4 separate regions of the Homo sapiens genome follow, and all the other regions are linked to region 3. Evidence: promoter capture Hi-C in 16 types of primary human blood cells and fetal thymus (Javierre and others, 2016). All regions are on one chromosome and are shown on one strand. The core of a region is centred on a gene start or on the middle of the fragment in contact, and the rest is flanking DNA. Distances in the headings are between cores, read along the strand shown.

Region 1 (2,746 bases), core at 85-2,584, 530 kb after region 3:
CGTCCATTCTGATGAAAGAGAGATTTTTTAGGGACAGTCATACATCCCTCTCAGAGGGCTCTGGGCCAAGAATTCCCCATCCAGCAATCAAATTCATATCGGCTTCCTCAGCACAGTCTCATCTGCTGGCCACTGGTCACCAGGGAAGTGGTTTCAGATGTTTTGGTCTCAGAGGCCCTATATCTCTTAAAATTTATTGAAGATTCCAAAGAGCTTTTGTTTATGTGAGTTATATTTATAGATATTTACATACTAGAAATTTAAACAGAAATTTCTCAAATGATTAATTATAAAAACAATTAATGATTAATATAACCCATTACATAGTAATATAAACATTTTTAATAAAATAACTATATTTTCAAAAAAAAGGCACTGTTTCACATTTTTGCAAATCTCTTTAATGTTTGGCTTAGAATCAAATAGTTGCATTCTCCTATCTGCCTCTGCATTGAGTCTGTTGCAGTATGTTGCTTTGGTTGAGGTATATGAAAAAAACTTGACCTCAGAGATACGTATTTGGAAAATGGAAGAGGATTTTCATAGCCTTTTCAGATAAATAGACGTATTCTTCTTTAACACTACACCAGAACTTGGGAAGCAGAAGCTTCTTTTTTTTTAGAGACAAGGTTTCGCTCTGTCATCCAGGCTGGAGTGCAGTGGCATGACCATAGCCCACCACAGCTCTGAACTCCTGGGCTTAAGTGACACTCCTGCCTCAGCCTCCCAAGTACCTGGAATTACAGGCATAAACCACAACACCCAGCAAAAGCAGCTTTTGAAAGTTAGTTGCAGTGTGGAATCTGAAAGCACATCAATGAACATTTTACATTGTTACATTAAAATCCATTTAGGCCAGACATGGTGGCTCATTCCTATAATCCCAACACTTTGGGAGGCCAAGTCAGGAGTACCGTTTGAGCCCAGGCAGGAGTTGGAGACCAGCCTGGGCAACAAAGTGAGACCCTATTCTCCATACACTTTTTTTTTTTTTTTGAGACAGGGTCTCATTCTGTCACCCAGGCTGGAGTGCAGTGGTGCTCACGGCAGCCTCAACCTCCTGAGCTCAAGTGATCCTCCCACCTCAGCCTCCCAAGTAGCTGGGACTACAGGTGCATGCCACCATGCCTAGCTAATTTTTTTATTTTTTGTAGAAATGGGGTCTCCCTTGGCTGGGCGCGGTGGCTCACACCTGTAATCCCAGCACTTTGGGAGGCCGAGGTGGGCGGATCAAAAGGTCAGGAGTTGGAGACCAGCCTGACCAGCGTGGTGAAACCCCATCTCTACTAAAAACATAAAAATTAGCCGGGCGTTGTGGCGGGCACCTGTAATCCCAGCTACTCATGAGGCTGAGGCAGGAGAATAGCTTGAACCTGGGAGGCGGAGGTTGTAGTGAGCCGAGATCGCGCCGCTGCACTCCAGCCCGGGTGACAGAGTGAGACTCCGTCTCAAAAACAAACAAACAAACAAAAAGAAATGGGGTCTATGTTCCCCAGACTGAAAAAAAATGTTATTTAAAAATTAAGATCCATATCTCTGCCTTGCATTTTGAGTAGATCTTTTATCCATACTTGAATTTACAACATCATACATTGGTATTTAGAAAATACTGTTGGCTGGGTGCCTGTAATCCTAGAACTTTGGAAGGCCAAGGTGGGCGGATTGACTAAACTCAGGAGTTCAAGACCACAGCCTGGGCAAGATGGTGAAACCCCGTCTCTATTAAAATACAAAAAAAAAAAAAAACTAGCCAGGTGTGGCAGCATACGCCTGTACTCCCAGCTGCTCAGGAGGCTGAGGCAGGAGAATTGCTTGAACCCAGGAGCCCAGGAGGCGGAGGTAGCAGTGAGCCAGCATCCTGCCACTGCACTCCAGCCTGGGCCACAGAGCGAGACTCCGTCTCCAAAAAAAAAAAAAGAAAGAAAATAGTGTTTCACTGAGTTACACAGCTCTTCCAAATGTTGACATATTTTGTAATATTAAATCAATGTTTAAAAAATCACATTCATTAATATCACCACCAATCTCATTAGAAAAGTCTTTAAATATTGGGAAGCTTCAAGTTCAAAACTCTGCCAAAATTCTTATTTTCACTTAAAAGCTGAATCTTATCATTGGCAACAAATACTGTCAGTTGTTTTCCCTGAAACAACAGGCTCACTTGATTAACTGAAGGAAAATGTCTGCCAGTTGGGTACTCTGAATAACCATGGTTTATTAATTGTCCTTTCCAGTAAAAATGATGTTCAATGAACAAAGCGATTAAGTTCACTTGCAACTCAAGGTGAACAAATCAAGGCTGCAAATTGCTTTTCTTCAAAACAACCATCATACTGGGTTTGCAACAGAGATGCTTTATGTGTACTTCCCATTTTGTCACAAAGAATATTAAAAACATTTATAATTAATCAATCTAATAAGAGTAACAGTCTTCACTGCTTCTTCAAGGACATTTACAAGCACAACTGGCATTTTTAAAAAACTAAGAGTGTAAGCCAGGTGCGGTGGTTCACACCCGTAATCCCAGAACTTTGGGAGCTAAGGCAGGCAGATCACTTGAGGTCAGGAGTTCAAGATCAGCCTGGCCAACATGGGGAATGCCCATCTCTACTGAAAATACAAAAATTAGCTGGGCGTGGTGGTGCATGCCTGTAACCTCAGGAGCTTCAGCTACTCGGGAGGCTGAAGCAGGAAAACTGCTTGAACTCGGGAGGCAGAGGTTGCAGTGAGCCAAAATTGCGCCATT
Region 2 (2,700 bases), core at 51-2,550, 550 kb after region 3:
CACCCCACCCACCAAGATGCCAGTGTGGTGTTCCCCTACCACGGTGCTAACTTCAGAATCCTGACTTGAGCTGCGGATCATAACAGCTGGACTCACGCCGATGACAGAGTCTTGATCAGTCCTCTGAAACAAGACACAGGAACATTAGGGGAGGTGTCCAATCTCCTCTCAGTTTCCCACAGAAATACTGTACCTTTTTCTTTCTCCTCATCCCCACCCTTCTGTTATCATCCTTAGAGAAGTCACGAGCAACTTTTGTTTCCAGAATATAAAATATGTACAACTTATGTAATAAAAAAAAGAAATAGGCCGGGCACAGTGGCTCACGCCTGTAGTCCTAGCACTTTGGGAGGCTGAGGTGGGAGGATCATTTCAGCCCAGGAGTTGGAGACCAGGCTGGGCAACATGGCGAAACCCCATCTCTACAAAAAATACACAAACTTAGCCAGGCATGGTGGTGGGTGCCTGCGGTCCCAGATGCTCAGGACGCTGAGGTGGGAGCATCACTTGAGCCCAGGAGTTTGAGGCTGCAGTGAGCAGAGAGCACACCACTGCTCTCCAGCTGCAGCGACAGAATGAGACCCTGTCTCAAAAAAAAAAACAAAAAAACAAAAAACAATGCGTTAAAGAAGTACATGCTCACTGTAGAAAATACATGAAAGAATAAGGAAATAAGAACAAGCTGTAAATCTACCTCCCACGTTAACCACTGTTTTTAGTATATTTCCTTTCAGTTTTTTCTCAATACATTTTAAAAATAAAATTGGAGTCACACTATAGGTAGCTTTGTTAAACAGTTTCCCATGTCACTAAATTTTTGAAAACACAATCTTTAATGGATACTAATATTGCATTACATGGATCTATTATACTTATTTAATAATTCCCTTATCATTAGTTATTTATATTGTTTTGAGGTTGTTCATTTTTTTTTTTTTTTTTTTTTTTTGAGACGGAGTCTCACTCTGCGGCACAGGCTGGAGTGCAGTGGCGCAATCTCAGCTCGCTGCAACCTCTGCCTCCCGGGTTCCAGTGATTCTCCTGCCTCAGCCTCCTAAGTAGCTGGGATTACAGGTGCCCGCCACCACACCCAGCTAACTTTTGTATTTTTAGTAGAGACGGGGTTTCACTACGTTGGCCAGGCTGGTCTCCAACTCCAACTCCTGACCTCAAGTGACCCACCTGCCTCGGCCTCCCAAAGTCCTGTGATTACAGGCATGAACCACCGCACCTGGCTATTTTATTTTTATTTTTATTTTTTTTTTTTTTTGAGATGGAGTTTCACCTTTGTTGCCCAGGCTGGAGTGCAACAGCACAATCTCGGCTCACCACAACCTCCGCCCACCGGTTAAAGCATTTCTCCTGCCTCAGCCTCCCGAGTAGCTGGGATTACAGGCATGCGCCACCATGCCTGGCTAATTTTGTATTTTTCATAGGGGCGGGGTTTCACCATGTTGGTCAGGCTGGTCTCGAACTCCCGACCTCAGGTGACCCACCCGCCTCGGCCTCCCAAAGTGCTGGGATTACAAGCATGAGCCACTGTGCCCGGCTGTCTGACTGTTCTATTTTAACTTAAAGAAGTATTCTGAGACAGCATATTTAATACTTGCAAATTTCAACAAGGTTGTCACAAACCTGGGAACTAGACGTCAGGCTCACACCACTGTCTGCGCTGATCTGGGACTTTTTCTCCTCTGTCTCACCAAGGTCAAAGACAGGTTTGATTACTTCAGGCCCTGAGTAGGGGAAGACTTCTGTTACTCCGTGCACAAAGGCTAGGGGCAGGCTGGTAAAGGGGGTGGGACGGCAGCACAGGCTGTTCCCAGACCCGTTCAGCCCATCCTAGTCACCTTTCCAAGGACTACCCCCCACTCAGGACCCACTGGAAAAAGAGGACCCCAGATGCCTTAAGAACCAAGTAGGACAAATCAGACCTGGTCTCAATGGGTTCTCCAGCCATCTTCTCAACCTGAGAAAATTCTGAGCAAATCATCTTAAAACAGAGAAGCTCCACAAGGCTGGGCATGGTGGCTCACGACTGTAATCCCAGCACTTTGGGAGGCTGAGGCAGGTAGATCACCTGAAGTCAGGAGTTTGAGACCAGCCTGGCCAACATGATGAAACCCTGTCTCTACCAAAAAATACAAAAATTAGCCGGGCGTGGTGATGCACACCTGTAATCTCAGCTACTCGGGAGGTTGAGGCACGACAATTGCTTGAGCCCTGGAGGCAGAGGTTGCAGTGAGGCAAGATCGTACCACTGCACTCCAGCCTGAGCAGCAGAGCAAGACTCCATCTCAAAAAAAAAAAAAAAGAAAAGCTCCACGAACAAATGTCTAAACCACATTCCATGGCACTCAAGAGTCTGAGCTTCACTGGTACCTGAAACCATTTAATGGTCCCCAGGTCCCTTAATGCTTCCCAAACAAATGTGTCTAAAGGAGGTAGAAAAGGTTGGGCCCGATGAGATAAGAAACACCAGCTGTTTTGGTGGGCACTGCCTACCTCCATCCTACAACTTCTATGTTTGAGATGAAAACCACCCCCCTTGTCCCCCACCCACCCACAATGGTATGGCAGAAAGACAGAATGACAGAAAGCAAGAAAGCGTGCCTAGGCAAGCCACCAGAGAGTGGGGCAGCTACAGACTCAACATGGAGGGACAGCAACCATCTCTGCCAACTGTGCCCACAGGCCTTC
Region 3 (2,806 bases), core at 52-2,551:
GTTGGTCTGAAACTCCTTACCTCGTGATCCACCCACCTCTGCCTCCCAGAGCGCTGGGATTACAGGCGTGAGCCACCGCGCCCGGCTAATTTTTCTATTTTTGGTAGAGACCGGGTTTCACCATGTTGGCCAGGCTGGTCTCGGACTCCTGACCTCAAGTGATCCTCACGCCTTGGCCTCCCAAAATGCTGGGAGCCACGCCCGACCCGGGTGTATAGTTTTCTCCAGTCATGTTCAGCTACAGATTTGAATGTAGTCGAAGTTGTAGTTTTTACCGATGAAGAGTTAGGCAATGAAGTAATTTAATGGTATTCAGGATAAGAAAGAAACACCAAAGAAGTGTGGGACAGTGAAGATTTTGTAGAACAATGGATTCCAGGTAGAATGAGGGGACTGCACTGCCAAAGTTGGTGTCCCAGAGGGAGTGAAGTGGAAAGATAGAAAATGATGGTCGGAACCAGATAAATGAAACGGAGAATGACAGGGAATGGTTGTGGTCACTGGTAATAGAAGTGCTTTAACTTCTATTGGCTATCACTAAGGAACAAAACCTTCCCCGCTGGAGATTAGCATTTTCCTCGATTTTGAACATCTACTCCCACAATATCTTCTAAACACCCACTATGGGCCCTTACTGCATTGACAGCCAAGTGCAAGATCACGGGTGGAAGGAATGGCAAATTCCTTTCACGTATCCAAGTGAGTAGCACTCAGGTAACCTCAGCAAGTGGCAGCACCAAGGTTTACCACATTACGTTTCATTATACAGGAATACACGAATACAGTCTCTTGGGGAGGGGAAAGACCAAAACCAAAGGCCTTTCCCTCACTACCCCTTCCTCACCCCGCCATCCCAAGTGTCGCCACTGAAGAGCGAAGGGAGGATCGCCAAAGATTTACAGACGGACACCCTAACCGAGGGAGAGGTGACCATAAACCCGGGATCCGGCAGAGGACGCCGAAAGGCCGGGACTCCCCGGACCTCGCCCCTCCTGGTCGACTGAGCCCCGCGTTTTAGAAACAGAAACAAACCCGGCCCCGCCCCCTGCCCTGCGGCCGCTGAGAAAAGAGCACCGCCCTCCGGAGGCGTTCCAGCCGGCCACTGGAAGGTTCCCGCAGATAGAGTCTGCCTCCCCTGCCCCCTTCTCTTCTGGATTCCTCGCTGCCCACCCTCATTCTCCCGGTGGAAGCCTCGCAACGAAGGGCCGGAGCCGCCTTTCTGCTCCCGGAATGCTTCACCTGTCCGCAGCTCCGCCCGCCCCACCCCCGGAAGTGACGGCGACCGCGCGGCCCTGCCTTTGTTCCGTTGGGCGTCGCGGCGACGGCGGGAAGATGGCGGCGGCGGGAGCCCTGGAACGGAGCTTCGTGGAGCTAAGCGGAGCTGAGCGCGAAAGGCCGAGGCACTTTCGGGAATTCACAGTCTGCAGCATTGGTACGGAAATGGCCAGGGAGGGTGCGATCCCATCTGTCCCCTCGGGCTCCTCTCATGGGTCCCAGGGTCCCTGACGCCCTGTTTCATCCTCCTGAGTCCACATGCCTCTAGCCCCGGGATCAGAGATTCCTTGATGTCCGACGTTTTCCTCTTTTCTTTGTATGGGTTGTCAGTCTGTCACTCTCTGCTTTGTCAGCTCCCTTAGTCCCTGTCATTTCTCAGAAGACGCGTGTGCAGGCTGACCACGTTCATTTTGCAGGGACTGCAAATGCCGTGGCTGGCGCCGTAAAATACAGTGAAAGCGCGGGAGGCTTTTACTACGTGGAGAGTGGCAAGTTGTTCTCCGTAACCAGAAACAGGTTCATTCATTGGTAAGTGTTGTGGTTCGCCAAACTCCCCTGGAAGGTAGGGTTTGGTGTATAAATTTTCGTCGCTGTACCCAAAGTGCTATTCTAGAAGCGGTAATTGACACTTAGGGAAAGAGAAAGATTGTTTTTTCAGTTCGTATCAGAATCGGGAAAACTGAGACACAGAGTTCTAGAAGAGATACCTCTCCCCCTCCCCCCCCCCACCCCCACACACACATACACCAAGCAACACCAGAAGCAGAGGAAATGTAGCTTAGGGGAATAAAGCCCATAAGACCAATTTTAAACATGAACCCGTTATGTTTTTATAGTGCTTTACAGCTTCCTTCATTGTACAAATACGTTCGAGCTTCAATATGTCAGGCATTGTGCTAGGTACCAGGACGAAATGAACAAAACTGCAATTTTCATCATGCAAGACGTTGTAGCAATGTCAGAATAGATGTAGACCCACTTTTCATGGGGAAATTTTTTGGAGGAAAACTTGCCCTAGAGGAAAAATATACGGGTTATGAGAGGCTAATAAGAGGACCAAATATAATTAGTGGGGCAGGGAAAGGCTTTAAGGAATTCACAGTTACCCTGAGATCTAAAGGACACGAGGTTAGCCAGGCATGGGGAGTGGACAGAGAGGAGTCCAGCAAGTAGGATCACCATATGCAAAGGTCATGAAGTGGAAAGAATGTGGCGGGTTTGGAACTGACCAAAGATCTGTGTGGCTTAAGTGCAGTGGGTAAAACAGAAAGTGATGTGAGATACTGAGGCTGGAGAGGTAGGCAGGACTCGGACCATGAGGGACCCTTAGGCCATTTTTAAGGATTTTTGGATTTTATCCTAAGTACATTGAGTAATAATTGAAAGATTTTTAAAGAGTTACTAACATCAAAATTGCATTTTTGGATGGGAACAGTTAACACTAGGGATTCCAAAAGGAGGGAGGGAGGGGAGCAAAGGTTGGAAAACCTATCGGATACTGTGTTCACAACTTGGGCGGCAGGATCATCAG
Region 4 (2,700 bases), core at 130-2,629, 600 kb after region 3:
CTACTCGGGAGGCTGAGGCAGGAGAATCGCTTGAACCCGGGAGGCGGAGGTTGCTGTGAGCCGAGATAACGCCATTGCACTCCAGCCTGGGCAACAAGAGCAAAACTCCATCTCAAAAACAACAACAACAACAACAACAACAACAAAACAAAACAAAAACTGCCTCTTCAGATGGAAAAAAAATGGCTAACATACCTGGATTTAGGTTTGCTTCTGCCAACACAGAATATGGTAGTGGTTCCTGTCCTCACCTTCAGAGATTCTGATTTATTTGATCTGGGATAGGCCCACATATCCATCTATCTACATGTGTTTTTTTTTTTTCTTTTTTTTTTTTGCACCTGTAGTTACGAACCAAAGTGTAAGAACCACAGAATCATCTGGCAGAAAATGCAAAAGCTGAAGGCAAAGGGGTGAAGAAACTAGGGCTCAGCTTCAGGCTCTACTATCTACTTGCGCTGTAATCCCCACCCTTCCTGGAATAGTTTCTCCCTATAAAAACTGAAATAGTATCTGCTTCATCAATCCCTCCTACGTGGGATACTTGCATGCACAAAGAATATAGACATATTTGAGCAAGTGGGAAGAAAAGCAAAAGCTGAATTTGAGAGATAGCTGAAATTTGGTGAGCCAAAGATTTACACTCTGAAAGTACAATGGTCTGGCTAGTTTGCAAGGAGTAAGAGGCCCATTAAAACAAAACACTCAACTGCCTCCCACTACCACTAATATGCAGCATTTTGCCAATTACCCAAGCCCTCTTTATTTTATTTTTTTTTTTGAGACAGAGTCTCGCTCTGTTGCCCAGGCTGGAGTGAAGTGGCACAATCTCGGCTCACGGCAGCCTCTGTATCCTGGGTTCAAGTGATTCTCCTGTCTCAGCCTCCCCGGTAGCTGGGATTACAGGCACACGCCACCACGACTGGCTAATTTTTGTATTTTTAGTAGAGATGGGGTTTCACCATGGTGGCCAGGCTGGTCTTGAACTGCTGACCTCAGGTGATCCACCCGCCTCGTCCTCCCAAAGTGCTGGGATTACAGGTGTGAGCCATGTCCGGCCTAGGTCCCGTTTAGTCCAACTAATTTGAAAAGGTTTCCTTTGACAGATACCTCTTTATTGAAAGGATTTCGGGATCACCAATTACAGTTTAGTAATGCAGTTTGAGTAGCCTGCAAGAAGCAGCCCATTATAGACTATTTAACTGAAAATCACAAAACCTGACTTTTTTTTTTTGAGACGGAGTCTTGCTCTGTCGCCCAGGCTGGGGTGCAGTGGCACGATCTCCGCTCACTGCAAGCTCCGCCTGCTGGGTTCACGACATTCTCCTGCCTCAGCCTCCTGAGTAGCTGGGACTACCGGCACCTGCCACCACACCCGGCTAACTTTTTGTATTTTTAGTAGAGATGGGGTTTCACCATGTTAGCCAGGATGGTCTTGATCTCCTGACCTCGTGATCCACCCGCCTCGGCCTCCCAAAGTGCCGGGATTACAGGCGTGAGCACGCACCCGGCCAAAACTTGACTTTTAATCCATTCTCAAACTGTGCCCATGCCCAAACTGTGAATTTGGGCAAGTCACTTCCTCTCTTTAGGTTTGTTTCCTAAGCTGTAAAGTAAGAGGACTAGGTTAAATCAGGTATTCAGAGATGCTGATTTATGAAACCTGTAATAAATGGTCTTTGTGAACCATTTGGGATTATATGCAAAATTCCATGTGTGTGTTTATATGTGTGAACATTTTTCTGGAGGAGAGGTGCAAAATTTTCATGTGATTCATAAAGGGGCTTGTGATTAAATAAGAAGGTTAAGAACTGTTTGGCTACCCAGGCTTTGGCTCTTACTCTATTTGCTTCTTGGCCTCCTCCATGACAACTCTGGAAGCAAAGTTTAAATCCTGAAGTATATATAAATAATTGAATCTGGAGTCCTAGGACAAAATAAAGACAGATAATCCTGATCTTTTTTTTTCTTTTCTTCTTTTTGAGACACAGTCTTGCTCTGTCATCTAGACTGGAGTGCAGTTGCACCATCATGGCTCACTGCAGCCTCAACCTCCTGGGCTGAAGGTGATCCTCCCACCTCAGCCTCCCGAGGAGCTAGGACCACAGGTGTGTGCCACCACACCCAGCTAATTTTTAAACTTTTTTTTGTAGAGAGGAGATCTTCCTAAGCTGCTCAGGCTGGTCTCCAACTCCTGGGCTCAAGCAATCTTCCCACCCTGGCCTCCCAAAGTGCTGGGATTAGAAACGTGAGCCACCACACCAAGCCTAATCAGGTTTTTGTTGTTGTTGTTTTGAGACAGTCTCACTCTGTCGCGCAGGCTGGAGTGCAGTGGCGTGATCTCAGCTCACTGCAACCTCCGCTTTCCGAGTTCAAGCGATTCTCCTGCCTCAGCCTCCAGAGTAGCTGGGATTACAGGAGCACGCCACTGCACCCGGCTAATTTTTTTTTTTTTGTATTTTTAGTAGAGACGGGGTTTCGCCACGTTGGCCAGGCTGGTCTCGAACTCCTGACCTCAGGTGATCTGCCTGCTTCGGCCTCTCAAAGTGCTGGTATTACAGGTGAGCCACGGCGCCCAGGCCAAGCCTGATCAGTTTTGTTTCCCAAAGATCTGAGGAGATTTGCTTCCAGTAGGCAGATCTGAATCAAAGCATCCCCAGGACCTATGATCTGACCTGCAACCGTCACAGGAGTCACAAA

What was found. Contacts are between HindIII fragments. The CHiCAGO score rates a contact against its expected background, and 5 or more counts as called.
Region 1: a contact is called between a fragment that was not itself captured here and the fragment with the promoter of NUP160 in region 3, in 1 of 17 cell types (total CD8 T cells). The highest score is 5.6, in total CD8 T cells.
Region 2: a fragment that was not itself captured here is called in contact with the fragment with the promoter of NUP160 in region 3 in 2 of 17 cell types (erythroblasts and activated CD4 T cells); the score reaches 5.5 in erythroblasts.
Region 4: a contact is called between a fragment that was not itself captured here and the fragment with the promoter of NUP160 in region 3, in 1 of 17 cell types (fetal thymus). The highest score is 5.1, in fetal thymus.

What each region holds. Positions count from the first base shown.
Region 1 is chr11:47,312,482-47,315,227 of GRCh38, reverse strand. MADD (MAP kinase activating death domain) reads right to left here. Exons shown (of 37, transcript NM_001376571.1): 30 at 1-8. Among named protein-coding and RNA genes, the nearest start is that of MYBPC3, 39 kb to the left of the region's middle. The HindIII fragment of the contact is 1,449 bases long and covers 610-2,058 here.
Region 2 is chr11:47,292,919-47,295,618 of GRCh38, reverse strand. MADD (MAP kinase activating death domain) reads right to left here. Exons shown (of 37, transcript NM_001376571.1): 22 at 1,636-1,736; 23 at 40-123. Among named protein-coding and RNA genes, the nearest start is that of MADD-AS1, 22 kb to the right of the region's middle. The HindIII fragment of the contact is 3,479 bases long and covers 1-2,700 here.
Region 3 is chr11:47,846,845-47,849,650 of GRCh38, reverse strand. NUP160 (nucleoporin 160) reads left to right here and starts at 1,301. Exons shown (of 36, transcript NM_015231.3): 1 at 1,301-1,432; 2 at 1,692-1,803. The coding sequence starts at 1,333. RefSeq lists an enhancer at 804-1,363. The HindIII fragment of the contact is 7,211 bases long and covers 1-2,806 here.
Region 4 is chr11:47,249,693-47,252,392 of GRCh38, reverse strand. It overlaps a transcript of NR1H3 not described here. Among named protein-coding and RNA genes, the nearest start is that of ACP2, 2.2 kb to the right of the region's middle. The HindIII fragment of the contact is 3,279 bases long and covers 1-2,700 here.